3 separate regions of the Homo sapiens genome follow, and all the other regions are linked to region 2. The links are contacts of gene promoters, found by promoter capture Hi-C in blood cells and fetal thymus (Javierre and others, 2016). All regions are on one chromosome and are shown on one strand. The core of a region is centred on a gene start or on the middle of the fragment in contact, and the rest is flanking DNA. Distances in the headings are between cores, read along the strand shown. Region 1 has its middle 61 kb from the start of LINC01142. Region 2 holds the start of PRRX1 (paired related homeobox 1). Region 3 overlaps LINC01681 (long intergenic non-protein coding RNA 1681).

Evidence for each region. The method cuts DNA at HindIII sites, captures the fragments that hold promoters and counts their contacts. A CHiCAGO score of 5 or more calls a contact.
Region 1: a contact is called between a fragment that was not itself captured here and the fragment with the promoter of PRRX1 in region 2, in 1 of 17 cell types (megakaryocytes). The highest score is 5.2, in megakaryocytes.
Region 3: a contact is called between a fragment that was not itself captured here and the fragment with the promoter of PRRX1 in region 2, in 1 of 17 cell types (megakaryocytes). The highest score is 5.7, in megakaryocytes.

Annotation. Positions count from the first base shown.
Region 1 is chr1:170,342,722-170,347,618 of GRCh38, reverse strand. No RefSeq gene overlaps it. Among named protein-coding and RNA genes, the nearest start is that of LINC01142, 61 kb to the right of the region's middle. The HindIII fragment of the contact is 1,259 bases long and covers 1,408-2,666 here.
Region 2 is chr1:170,661,217-170,665,488 of GRCh38, reverse strand. It overlaps PRRX1 (paired related homeobox 1), which reads right to left and starts at 1,358. Exons shown (of 4, transcript NM_022716.4): 1 at 1,030-1,358. The coding sequence starts at 1,270. RefSeq lists enhancers at 1-725, 1,926-2,453. The HindIII fragment of the contact is 9,244 bases long and covers 1-4,272 here.
Region 3 is chr1:170,235,996-170,240,422 of GRCh38, reverse strand. It overlaps LINC01681 (long intergenic non-protein coding RNA 1681), which reads right to left. Exons shown (of 5, transcript NR_146891.1): 3 at 101-193. Among named protein-coding and RNA genes, the nearest start is that of LINC01142, 46 kb to the left of the region's middle. The HindIII fragment of the contact is 1,013 bases long and covers 1,224-2,236 here.

The DNA of each region.
Region 1 (4,897 bases), core at 788-3,287, 320 kb after region 2:
AAAGCTGTGAGAGCAGGAATGGGGAATTGTCAAGAGGTGCAGAGAAAATAAGGCCAACTTACTCTCCGGGTTTCAGTCCTTCAGGATGAGTGGTGGGTTTGTGGCAGGGAATGGGATTTTGCCTTACTCTTCTTGGATGTAGCTCAGGGAGCTGCACCTAAAGAGAACTTTTATTTCCTGTGTTCTTTGTTCCCTGACATTTCCAATTTCCATCACAGGAACTTTGCCAGTTGTGTGCTTTGCCTTTATTTTAAAATTAACTTCCCAAGAAGGTTGTAAGATTCAGTAGACATCTGGTGTGAATGCTGAGGGCTGTCCTTGCCAGCTGGGTGCTCCTGCTGTGATGGAATCGAGTGGTCCTGCTCTCTTTGCTTTGAGATAGTGACCTGTCTATCCAGGTCCTCTTCTCCTCTAAATACATGAGCATTCATATTTTATTTGCCATTTTGACTTCATAAACCAGGCTTATGGTAGAAGAAAAAGACTGCGACTCATTAGGCATATTCTCTGTCTTTCCTCCAGAGGGTTCAGGCAGGAAGTGCTAATAGGCCTCAAAAGGACTGGGGAGAAGAGACACCGAGACAGAAAATCAACAGCTACCAGCTATTGCTCATTTCTAAAGAAGAGGCATTTTTACTTAAGCAATAGGAAAAAAAAATGCTCCAAAGTAAATGTGAACATATATACTTGAGCAACCAACAGCATTTTCTCAGACTACGTGTCTCCTGAGGAAAAGTTGAAGTTTTTGCTTCTGGCCAGTCTGGAACCTGTCCCTGTGCCCACCTTCCCTTGCCAAAGCTTTGATCCTAAAGAAACACTTCAGTATTTCAAATTCAAACCCACAATAGTAGACCTTGTGGTAGATGTGTTTCACATTTGTGATATGCCTAATTCACAGCAACTCTCTCAAACCACATCCATTTGAGGTACACACCATATGTTCATTCCTATTTTCCCAACCCACAAACTTAGCCCCCACCATCACAAAATGTTTATTTTTCATTAAACTTCCTACCTATTTACTCATCATGCTTCAAGAGCTCCTAAAATTTCAGGTCTCCTCCATAGCATTTCTCACTTTAACTGGAACTGAGATGGAATTTTTTCCAGCTTTGGACTTCCAAGATAAAACTCATACCTTCAGCCACACCAAAAATGACAAAAACTACAATAATTTGGGTGGAAATACTACCTTCTCTAGCACCCAAAGCATTTTTTAAAATCATTATATTTTGTTGGTGTATTCTAAGAGATAAAAAATATTGTGTTCTCATTTGGCAAAGAGCAAGACTGAAGTAGGCATTCAGTGGCATAGCTAAGATTGCTCAGCACCATCTGGCAGGCAGGGCAAGGGGAGAACCTGCTGACTCTCAAAAATAATGATCTATGTGTTGCAGGCCCAAAGCTTTCCTGGGCTCTACAATATCTTAGTAGTTACTATACTTTATGACCATGGATTTTTCTTAGTTCTTATTTTCAGATGGATGTTAAAATTATCTTAAAATGTTCTCTCCTTCCCCAAACATATACCTATTTATCTCCCTCCAAACACATATATATTTCCCCCACCACACTGAAATTCTGAACATGGGGGTTAGAGAAGAGGGAGATTTCCTGCTTTCTCCTCCTCTGCCCTCATATTTATCTTCTGGGATGAAGGAAACTGATATTTATCAATAGTCTAATGCAAGATGTATGTAATTTTATTTAATATTTCTAACAACCTTACTTTGGCATTATTTCACCTCAGAAGGATTAAATGCCTCATCTATTCTCACAGCTTACAAGATGCAAGGATGGAAGAGTACAGGGCTCAGAGCCTTGCAAGATGCATGGCTGATCTAGGAGCACCCAAGGTCTCACCAGTTCCAAAACCTGTATATTGTTTCTGTTGTTTTTCTTTCAAGTTTATTCATTTTAAGCAGATTTTGAGCATTCTAATCTCCTTTGGATAGGTGCTCAAAAATAAGATCAGTGAGTATCTTTTTTTTTCTTTTTGAGACAGAGTCTCGCTCTGTCACCCCGGCTGGAGTGCAGTGGTGCAATCTTGACTTGATCAGTTAGTATCTTAATGCTTGGACACGGAAGTTTTAAAATTTTGTTCTCTTTTTCTTTTTTTGATTTTCCTAAACATTAAATTGGCTGAGTTAACATTCTTATTCCAGAGGCTGGAAGTAAGATGAAAGCCAAGAGTCTGACTTATTTCTTCATCAATTCATTCAAATCCTACAAAACTATCCATTGACTTGGCCTTTCTCTAACAAAGACCTTAATTTAGCGTGGTTTGATTTCATTACTAGTGATTGGGAGAGTTTATTGCATAGAAACAAACCTTATGATCCCTTGGGAGAATATGAAAGTCATCACTGGCTGAGATGACCCATGAATAAAATGGGTGAAAAACATTCTAGAAAGGAAGAATCTGTAAGAGAAGTTGTGTTTAGAGGAAAAAAAGATTGTTAGTGGTAATGATATATCTTGAGCTAGATATGTCATTTGATCTCCTTAGACAGCTTCTGCAGGATGGAACTTAAAATACATTTTTTTCTCAGTCTAACACAAATAATCAATACAGGAAAAAAAAAAGGTTTAGGCTGAAAAACAAAATAAACACGTGTAATTCAACCCACCCAGATAAAATGGCATAAACAGTTGATATACAAGCTTCCAGCTTTTGAATCTGAATATATAATTTAACAGAAATAGAATCATAGCATAATACATCTTTGAAGCTCATTTTAAATTTAATATTAAGAATACAAATTAATATCAATAAGGAAAGATCTATAGCATAATAATTACACAGCTCATAGTATGATATCATGTGCTGCATCACAATTTACTTAATCTGTTCTTTAGGATTAGACAATGAGACTTGTTTATAATTTTTCAGTTGCAAATAGTGATACCATGAATGCCAGCAAAACTGTTGGTGTAAGGGAAACAATGAGAGATAGCAACAGGTCTGGAATTGAAACTATTTATTACATTAAAGGTATAAACATTTTAAAGCCTTTTGATAGACGATCCCAAACTATTTTTCTGAAAATTGCGCCAACATACATAGCAGTGTATGACTGCATCCACTTCCCTAAACCTGCAGGCTGGTAGAAATAAATGTTATTTCATTGCATTTCGTTGCAATAATGTTGAATAATTTTTACTGTGTACATTGCCTGCTTGTATTTCTTCTTTTATAAATAGCTTATTATGTTTTTTGCCCACCAATTTTTACCTGAGTATTAGTCTTTCACTTATTGATTTATAAAAATTCTCATTTTATAGTAATGCTTTATAATAAATGTTGCAAATATTTTTTCCAATTTGTCTTTTTTTCCCTTTTAATTTTACTTATAGTGTTTTATGCAACAAACTGGTTTTACATTGTGTGTAGTCAAATCCATCAGCATTTGCTTATTTGTATTTTCCCTTTGGTTTTTGGCTTAGACAATTCCAGGAACTTTAAAGCAACTTTGAAAAAGTCAAACTTATAATACATAAGCTCTCTACAAACTTATTCAAAATTTTCATGTGTTTGTACTCATGATACTTGTTACCAAGCTATACCTTCTATGGAAGACCATTTTCCCATAATTTTAGTCAGGGTGCTGTGCCATTAAATATGAATAATAGCAATCTTTTTAATTTTTCAGAAAAATAAATTTAATAAAATATCTTTCAAATCTAAGGTTTCCCACCACATTTTTTTCTTAAATATTTGGTGCTGTTACCCATTGCCTTTATTAATATCTAATAAAACCTGGTGTCATATTATATATTCTGTTATTTTAAATTTAATATGTCAATATTAAATGGTGTTGTGCAAAGGTTGCTATTACTTCCAGATGTTCTGCTAACTGACAAGTTCAAGGATCTCTAGTATGTGGTACATGTTTGCTACAGTTAAAAACTAAAAGGGAGGTAATGTTCACAACACAAAAAAATGAGAAAACTGAAGACTAAGAGTTTTGTTGTAACTACTAATTACTTCTTACCTTCTTTAAGATCCCATGCCTTGATTACAAATATCACTGACTAATGTATTCAATGAATCTGACTGCCACGCCTGTGAAATTGTAATTTTCTGATGGGCTCAAATAACTTTCCAAAGGTAAGATTTTTTTAACCACAAAATTATTATTTTTTATATTAGAAGCATAAATGGAACATGGAAATTTCTTCTTTGCTTTTTAATGCTTCCAGAGGCAGTCTTTATTGCTATACTGGGTCTGTGAAGAACACATAAAAAGGCACTTCTCAACTGGCACTCACAAATAGAAGCTTTGAAAATATGCACCTATAAAATGCATGCATTTCCTGAACTGGTAGCTGCTTTATTCAACAGACCATTAAAAGCCCACTTAGAGGACCTCTCACAAGCTCATGTGCACTACAGGTACTTAAAGCTGGTGAACCCAGCAATGGCAAGAAACAAAACAAAACAAAAAAGTAGACCAACATCTACTAAAATTTACACAGAGAAAAAAGCTCTCTCCCCAAACCCAAATTTCCTCCAACACTAACACTCTTATAAAGAACAGGTAATGTGACAAAATTGCCCCACTTCCAATCCCCCAGCCCAAATCCAACACCCCTCCTGTACTCCAAGTATCAATCATCAGCCCAGGCAAGGCAAATGAACTTTTAATCAATAACAGCTACTGTTTCTTGTACGAGGACTGTTTATGATTTAAAAGGGGAAAAATTAAATCAATCCTGATGTGAATGTTTTCTCTCTTGAAGAGAAAAAGCAACACCCTGTGTCAAAGAAAGGGGGTAGTTTCACGTTTTAAAAATACATTACAAAAACAAATTTAAAATTGTTTGTGTGTGCATTGGCTACAGACAAAAAAGTAACTTTGTGGGATGCTATAGATTGTAGGCAAGTGCCTTTAAT
Region 2 (4,272 bases), core at 109-2,608:
TTCAGACTCTTGCAACCTCGAGGAGAAGAGGGAGTATCTGTACATATCTGGCCACATGTCACCTGGGATGAACAGGGTGACCGGTCTGTTACAGACTTGGGGGCATGGGGATACAATTGCAGTCTCTTTTTAAGGCACTAGCGAAGCGAGATTTTCATGGGTCGCGAGGTTGGTCGGTGAGGATGGGGAAGGGAAACTGGACTTTTCTGGGCGTTTAAGAGCCAATAGGGAGAGCTCCTCTAAGGTGACACTGGCCTCCGCACTGAAGCTCGCGCCTCCCGGATGCAGCTCGCCTGTGCGGGATCATGCGGGGCTGGATTTCAGGTTTCACCCTTAAAGGACATTCCCTTTGCTTGGCCCGAGTTTTCCCAAGCCAGCCGGGCTTTTGACTCTGCCAGTCTCAAACCCATTTGCGGTAGAGGCAACAGCAGGGGGCAGAGAGCAGCTCCAGCGTCTGGGGCCGGGCGTTCTCTCGGGGCCTCCCGGTCGCGCCCGGCCTTACGGTGCCCGCGTGGAGAGTGCAGCCTGAGCAGCGCCAAGTCCTGCTCCCTGTGCCTGGTGCCCTCCCTCAAGCCGTCATACGCTGCCCGAGAGAAGCCCTTCCAACCCGACTCAGCATCTTTAACCTGCTGCTTTCCCAAACAGCGCTGGCTCTCTGAGTTTGCACCCCGCTAAGACCTTTTCCCAGCCCAGCCCCGCCGCCCCGCGTGCGGGATGAACCGAGCCGGTGCCTAGCCGAAGTAAAGAGAGTCCGCCGCGGACAGAGTCCCTGCCTGAGACCGCAGGGCCTCGGAGTGTCCCCGGACCTTGGAGCCTCTCTCCAGCGTCCTCCTTGGCTATGCCCTCGGCCGAGACCCGCTTTTCTCATCTGGTTTCCCCTGTGACTGGCCCTTCCTTTGAAGTCTGCCATCACCTCTCCTGGTCCCAGGACCTTGTCTTTCTGGCCGCGGACGGGCTCTAGCTGCCCTACACGGGTCCCCGCCCTCTGTCCCGGGCACACACCCCCGTGGGCATGCGCCCCTCACTCACTGTCCTGCTGCGGGGTGTCGCTGCCGCTGGTGAGTCCCGGCGACTCCAGCAGGCTCCGGCCAGCCTCGCCCACGTTCTCATCCGCCTGTGCCGCCACCATGTCCCCGGCTTCCTCCAGGTCTAGCAGGTGACTGACGGAGAAGTTCTTTTTCGCCTGCAGGGTGTCGAGGTTGCCCGGGCTGTCCAAGCGGCCGCCCAGCGCCGGTTGCCGCTCCAGAACGTGCCCGTAGCTGGAGGTCATGGTCTCCCCCACCGATCCCACCCACCCCCCTCTTCCCGCTCGAATCAACACCAAACGCTGTGGGCGCGAGGGGGGAGAGGAGCCGAGTGGGGAAGAAAGAGGGGGGTAGTGGAGAGAGAGAGAGAGAGAGGGAGGAAGAGGGAGGGAAGGAGAGGAAGGCCAAAAAAAAAAAATTGGAAAAGAGGGTGGGGGACCCCCTTCTGTAGAGCAGAGCGTTGTGCACCAGCCGCCTTCCGCAGCATTGGTTGATTTCCTGAGGCCAAGTCCGGCGCGGTCCAAAGAGATAATCCACAGTAAAATACAATATTAAAAAGTCACCCTATGTTCAAGTCAGGAGAAAAAAATCCCTTCCAACTCTCCAAAAGTGTCCACACGCACAGACTAAAAATAATAACAAGGGGGAGAGAGGAAAGCGGAGGCCAGCAGGGCGGGGGAGTTAGGCAAACAGAAGAAGAGAGAAGAAGGGGTGGGAGAGAAGAATCAAAGTGAATGGTTTTTTTAAAGGTTAAAAAAGTTATTCCCAGGCAAGAGTTCAAGCACCAACAGAAGAAGGCTTGTTCCAGCTTTAAAACATCTTCAAGAAAACGTGTTCCCCCCTCTCTGCACTCCTGTGGATTCTCAGGAGTGACTAAAGTTTCAGGAGGAGAGGGTGATGTCTTGCAGATGTATTAGAGAGCAGGATTCTCACTTTACTTTTTGTAAAGAGTAAAAAAAAAAATTAAGAATTAAAAAAAAAAGGCTTCAAGAGTCCGACGGAGGGTGCTGGTGGGTTCCCCCCTTTCCCCTTCTCTCTCTCCCCCTCTTCTTGCTGGGCTCCTTTTTCCTTCTCAGTTGGATCAAGAAGCTCTCTGGCACTTCAAAAGGCACAAACTGGCATGCAGAGGAGGCTTTGTAGGGAATACAAGAAAATTGGAGACCCCTGGGAGGGCAGATCTCGACTTAATAGGAGCCTGTAATTACGTGGCAAAGCCTTTGTGCTGTGCCTGACGTTTCACAGACCCCCTTTCTCCATCACAATCTCCTTCTTCCTCCTTTCCCTGGGACCAAAAAACAGTCTGATTAAGAAAACCCCCTTTGCCAACATCAGAGTTAGAGAGAAAGGGAGAGGGAGGGAACAAGAGAGAGGGAGGGAGAGAGGGAGGGAGGGAGGGAGGAAGGGAGAGAGAGAGAGAGAGAAAGAGAGAAGAGAAATGAGAGAGGGAAGAGAGCAAGAGAGCCCCTTTGGATTTCTAAAGGTCTAATTATCATTCCCCTGCAATAATATCACGGGGAGAAAAGACAAACTGAAACTCACAGTCACTTCAAACGTGCTGATTATTTTGCTTCGGCATTAACTCCTCCAGATTTGTTTAAGATCCTGTTGGAAAATCTCATTTGCATGTTTTGATAACAGCTGTGGGGAAATTTGGAAAAAATCCACCACCATCACAATCAAATTTTCTTCTCCTTCTGCCTTCCCCCAAACCGCCCCCCCCCAAAAAAAAATTTTCTGCTGTTCTAACAGTTTGGGGCGGAGTACAGGGAGAAAGTAAGCATATTAAGGCTATTTTTGGTTCCGTAGAGGGAGCCTATTAAATAATGTAATAAAAATAACAAAAGGGATGATAATAGGAAGTTCTCTCACGCCTCTCGCAAGGACTAAAGGCAGGTTGGGGAGATCCAGAGGGCACCGAGTTTATTTGAGGCTTTCCCCGCCATTAGGCATACCAGGACTAGGGCAATGAGAAAAGTACGTGTTTATTAAACTGGAAGAAAGGACTCCAAATATATATTATAATCTTTCTCCCTACCCCCGCCAATTTTGTAACTTCTACGGTAAGGCCAAAGTTGCTTCCCCAGGCGAGGACGCTAAACCCAGAGGGTCCCGCTGCCCAGATTCCTTGAAGCAGGCAGGAGCACTCCCAGAGGCAGGAGTTGGGGAGGCTTCCGTGCGGTTCTGCGTCCAGCCTGGCTGTGGTGGCAGGAGGACAGAGAGGGGCGGAGGAACCCCCATCTAAGTCTACGGATAATCCTCTGTCGTCCGTCTGCGGAGCCCTAACCTGACAGAAGACAGAGAGGTGCTGAGCAGTTTTTTCATGACCTGTTGGAATTTGGTAACAGCTTTAACAGTCTCATTAGAAATGAGTTACTGTATGACGACTCAGTAAAATATTAAGTGCTTATTTGTGGCGTTTTATGTTCTTTAAACGCGCACTCACACACACACACACGCATCCGTACTCCCGCACTCCCTTGATTGCTAGACTTTTTTTTTTTTTCGTCCTATAGTCAAGAGGCTCGACTGGAGAGAAAGAAGGGTACGAGTGTGTGTAAATGGTTTCTGGGCTCCAAACGGCCATAGTTAGCCCAGAACTTCCAGCCCTGATCTGGGAAAAGAACATTTGATGCCATCAAAGGGCTGTAGATTGAAACCAGATGTGCTCGCCTCGGTTCTTTCCATGCATTTAATTAAGGAACTGGGATGGAGGAGACTTTTTCATCATTAGTCCACCCACTCCCCCCTCCTCTCGGCGGTCTTTCGCCCTCCCCCCACTCTCCCCGCCCCCACCCCCATCCCTTGGCCGCTCGAACCCCCGACCGGGAGCCCAGAGCCCTGCCAGCGCCGCACTGTGCGCCGCGCAAGTCGCTCGATCTCCCCAGCGGTACCGGCTCTAAGCAGTAAACATCTGTGCGCTTCTGAGCCAGGGACGCGCGTGGGGGGTGGGCGTGCACGCGGGTGGGCCAGCGCAGAGTGGGAGCTTGTGGGTGCTTTCCGTCGGGATTTCCAACTCAGCTGCCTCCGAGAGCCTAAGCTGAGCGCCGCACGTGCTCGTGCCATCTGCTGTACTGGACGCAGTCTAATAGCGCAGAGAGGTTTCCATCCGGCATCCAGTTCGATGTGGGCCGTTTTTCCCTTCCCAGCGGTCTGTCCTTGGAGCTGATCAGTCTCCCCAAAACCTCCCTAGAAATAGAGCAGCTCCTCGCCTCTCCCTCCTTTCGCACTCTCTATCCTCATTTACACA
Region 3 (4,427 bases), core at 481-2,980, 430 kb after region 2:
ATGACTGAAGCCAAAAGCACTTCAGGCAGGGATTCTTGGGCTCATGGATCTTTACAGGCTTAAAAATGCTGCTTTAAGGATATTTAAGAAGAAGGCTTACATTTAGGAAACTTCAAAGGGTTGAAATTTGATCACTCCATAGGTGATCAACGCAGAGTGAATGTCTTCAGTTGCAATATTCAATTGAAACACTCTTGTACAATTGAAGAAAAAGGAAGAAATCAGAAGATAGTTAATGCCTTTTAAATCCAGATAAGTTTAACTACAATAAAAACACATACCAACGCCTTGCCTTCTTGGCCTAGTAAGTTCCAGGTATAGTTGTGAAGACTGTTCTTCAGTGCAGTAGCAATGAACTGGAAAGCCTTTGTGTAACTGAAGGGTTTCCGTGGGTTCCAGATTCTGAGTTTGTCCCAGAAGCCAAAACAATGATTTATAAAATGTTGCAGATTTCTAAATAAATGTTAAGCATCTCCTGGTTATTAAAGATTGCTAACCAGTATTTAATTTATCTGTGTTTCCTCCTGTTAACCAAGCAAGTATACAAAAAGAGTTGCTATTAATTATCATGCCATATTTTCAAAAACAACACACTATATTAACTTTTGCTTATCACAGACTGCCCTAATCTAAGTCTGATTGTATGGCTTTTAGATCGTCTTTTGGTTTGATAAATACATCAGAATCCCCAATAACTGTTGAGATTTCATTTCCACCCCACCTAACTATTGCTCATCTCATTCTTACTCATGCAATTCCTCCTCCCTCCCCACCCATACACAGCAATGCTGCTTTTGCAATTTGTCAACCTGAAGGCAATAACAGTTGTCAAACTGACCGTGCAACTTTTTGGCAACCCACACAAATCACTGTGTATCTCTGTACTTCTCTCTCCTTTTATCAATGATTTGGGAGTAATCATCCTGGTTGCCTGCTTTGTTCTCGTGAGTTTGGAGGGCACTGACATTCATGGAACATTGTGAACTAAGAAGAAAGTTGCTTATAAGTGTCTCGAACTACCATTTTCACATGTCTTAACTGCCATAACAGGGAGGAAAGTCTTCACAATTTGAAAGGCTGCCTGAAACTTAGTCCCACTGCACCAAACCTTTGATCTTTTGGTCACACCGTCAGTCTCTTGAAAACTCAGTTCTCTTGTAAAATTTTCAGTCTGCTCCCAAAACAATTGTTGCATAAGTTCTGAAAGCCAGGCCCACAAAGCTTCGCTTTGTTCTGGAAAGTTCCCTAAATAGAGTTAGGTAACAACGGCATTAGCACTAAGACTGAGGAGTCATGGCATCCAATCACACACAGCTCTCTGTTTTTCTTTCTCTCAACGTCTCTTTTTCTTTTCCTCTTCTCTTCCCCTTCTTTTTCAATTTCTTCCTCCTCCTCTCTTCTCCTTTGTTTCCTTCTCCCACAAAAAGTGTTTGCTTTTCCCCGCAAACGCTTCTGAGCCTTGGACCAGGCTCTGATTTCACCAGCTTTGCTTAAGCAAGACTTGCTGCTTCACCTAAGGACAAAGGTGTTTCCAGGTTTAACTAAAAACTGGATGGGACATTACATAACAGAGTGAAGTGAGGCTCCCATTGCCAAAGTGCTACAAAAACACTTTTTCTCACAATGTTTCAGAACTTTTGCAACAGGGTATCTACGAGAATTAAAACATGGGTTAAAAATATGTAAGATCTCATGCCAAATAATTGAAAACAAACAGTTGATTTACAGTAAGATCTTGCTAGTTTTCACTCTTCTGAAATGAACCTGATTCTTTTGTTTTAATAGCAGGGTTTATTTGCTATATACATTGAAATACTTTAAATTATTGAGCATTTTTGAATATTAAGAACTTTTGAAATAAATCATGAACTGATGTTAGGAACAATTTTAAGTGTGTCACATTTGTCGGTATGAATTAACCTAATGCATTTTATTTGAGGGGCTTCTCTACATTTTCTTCTCTTGCTTGTGAGAGTCTGTGACATTTCACAATGAAGATAGCCTCTTGTGTAAGCATAAATTAGGAGAAGCCACCAAGGCTGAGATTAATAGCTTAAGTTATTTTCACTAAATTTAAGTAGATTGATTAAATCATTCCACAATGTAATCATGTATCAAAACATCACAATGTACTCCCTAAATAGATGCAATTATTATTTGCCAGTTAAAAAGTTTTAAAAAGAGGTTTACTTCGTGAAGAGCAAAAAATATTTGGCAACAGTAATCAAATGAAGCTTATATATCATAGTCAAAATATAATTGTATCAGAATTCCTGATGATTAAAGCACATCTAGAAAGAGCCCGGCCCACTGTGCTCCTGCCCACGACCAAGGCCTCAAAGAGGTCTCTCTAATCATTCCCACTCTCATTTCTGGCTGTACTCCTATTTCTTACTATGCTGGGGTAACATGTTTGTAGACTATTTTAAGAACTATATTGAGCAGCTTCTTCAAACAGGTATACTTACTCTTGGGAGTACATAAAACCTTTCAGAAGACATGCAAACACAAACTGTTCTAAGGAAATCAATTTCCAGATACTTAGCTTCCACATCCACTCTTTCCTAAAAGTAGTCTGCCTAAGGTGCCTTCCATGAACTCTTCATAACCCTTTCCTTCCCATTCGCTTTGTTATCCTTGCTGGAGCGATGCATTGTCTTGCGATGTAATAATCTCTGGGATGTCAAACAAAGGAATAATTTGAAATATTTGTGTCACCTCATTTAATCAAAGCACCATAAAACCTGACCACCGATCATGCTAAGAAAAGCATCTCCAATACAATATTATTTTTGATATTTAAAAATTATAATTTGTGTGTATTTTTGATCACTTCCATATGAAAAATAACTGTTATGATAATACAGAAGAAAATTATAGGTCTTCAAACTCTAGGACCATAGAAAATTTTTATTGCAACTAGTAGGCAGAGCTAAAAATGTAGCAAAAGGAATCTAAATTTAGACATAAAGTTCTGACTATGGAGGTAGTGAAAAAAACACAGAATGGAAATTTTAAAATTTTTGTTGTATAGGCATATAAAAGGGTAACCAATAACAGATATTCACTTTTAAAATTATATTGCATTGGTGTAAAAGTCTAAGAGGAAGTGGAATGGAAATAAAATATCAAAGAGAAAAAAGAATTACAAAAATGTCTAATTTTTTTATTATTATACTTTAAGTTTTAGGGTACATGTGCACATTGTGCAGGTTAGTTACCTGTGTATACATGTGATATGCTGGTGCGCTGCACCCACTAACTCCTCATCTAGCATTAGGTATATCTCCCAATGCTATCCCTCCCCCCTTCCCCCACCCCACAACAGTCCCCAGAGTGTGATGTTCCCCTTCCTGTGTCCATGTGTTCTCATTGTTCAATTCCCGCCTATGAGTGAGAATATGCGGTGTTTGGTTTTTTGTTCTTGCGATAGTTTACTGAGAATGATGATTTCCAGTTTCATCCATGTCCCTACAAAGGACATGAACTCATCATTTTTTATGGCTGCATAGTATTCCATGGTGTATATGTGCCACATTTTCTTATCCAGTCTATCATTGTTGGACATTTGGGTTGGTTCCAAGTCTTTGCTATTGTGAATAATGCCGCAATAAACATACGTGTGCATGTGTCTTTATAGCAGCATGATTTATAGTCCTTTGGGTATATACCCAGTAATGGGATGGCTGGGTCAAATGGTATTTCTAGTTCTAGATCCCTGAGGAATCGCCACACTGACTTCCACAATGGTTGAACTAATTTAGAGTCCCACCAACAGTGTCAAAGTGTTCCTATTTCTCCACATCCTCTCCAGCACCTGTTGTTTCCTGACTTTTTAATGATCGCCATTCTAACTGGTGTGAGATGATATCTCATTGTGGTTTTGATTTGCATTTCTCTGATGGCCAGTGATGGTGAGCATTTTTTCATGTGTTTTTTGGCTGCATAAATGTCTTCTTTTCAGAAGTGTCTGTTCATGTCCTTTGCCCACTTTTTGATGGGGTTGTTTGTTTTTTTCTTGTAAATTTGTTTGAGTTCATTGTAGATTCTGGATATTAGCCCTTTTTCAGATGAGTAGGTTGCGAAAATTTTCTCCCATTTTGTGGGTTGCCTGTTCACTCTGATGGTAGTTTCTTTTGCTGTGCAGAAGCTCTTTAGTTTAATTAGATCCCATTTGTCAATTTTGGCTTTTGTTGCCATTGCTTTTGGTGTTTTAGACATGAAGTCCTTGCCCATGCCTATGTCCTGAATGGTAATGCCTAGGTTTTCTTCTAGGGTTTTTATGGTTTTAGGTCTAAGCTTTAAGTCTTTAATCCATCTTGAATTAATTTTTGTATAAGGTGTAAGGAAGGGATCCAGTTTCAGCTTTCTACATATGGCTAGCCAGTTTTCCCAGCACCATTTATTACATAGGGAATCCTTTCCCC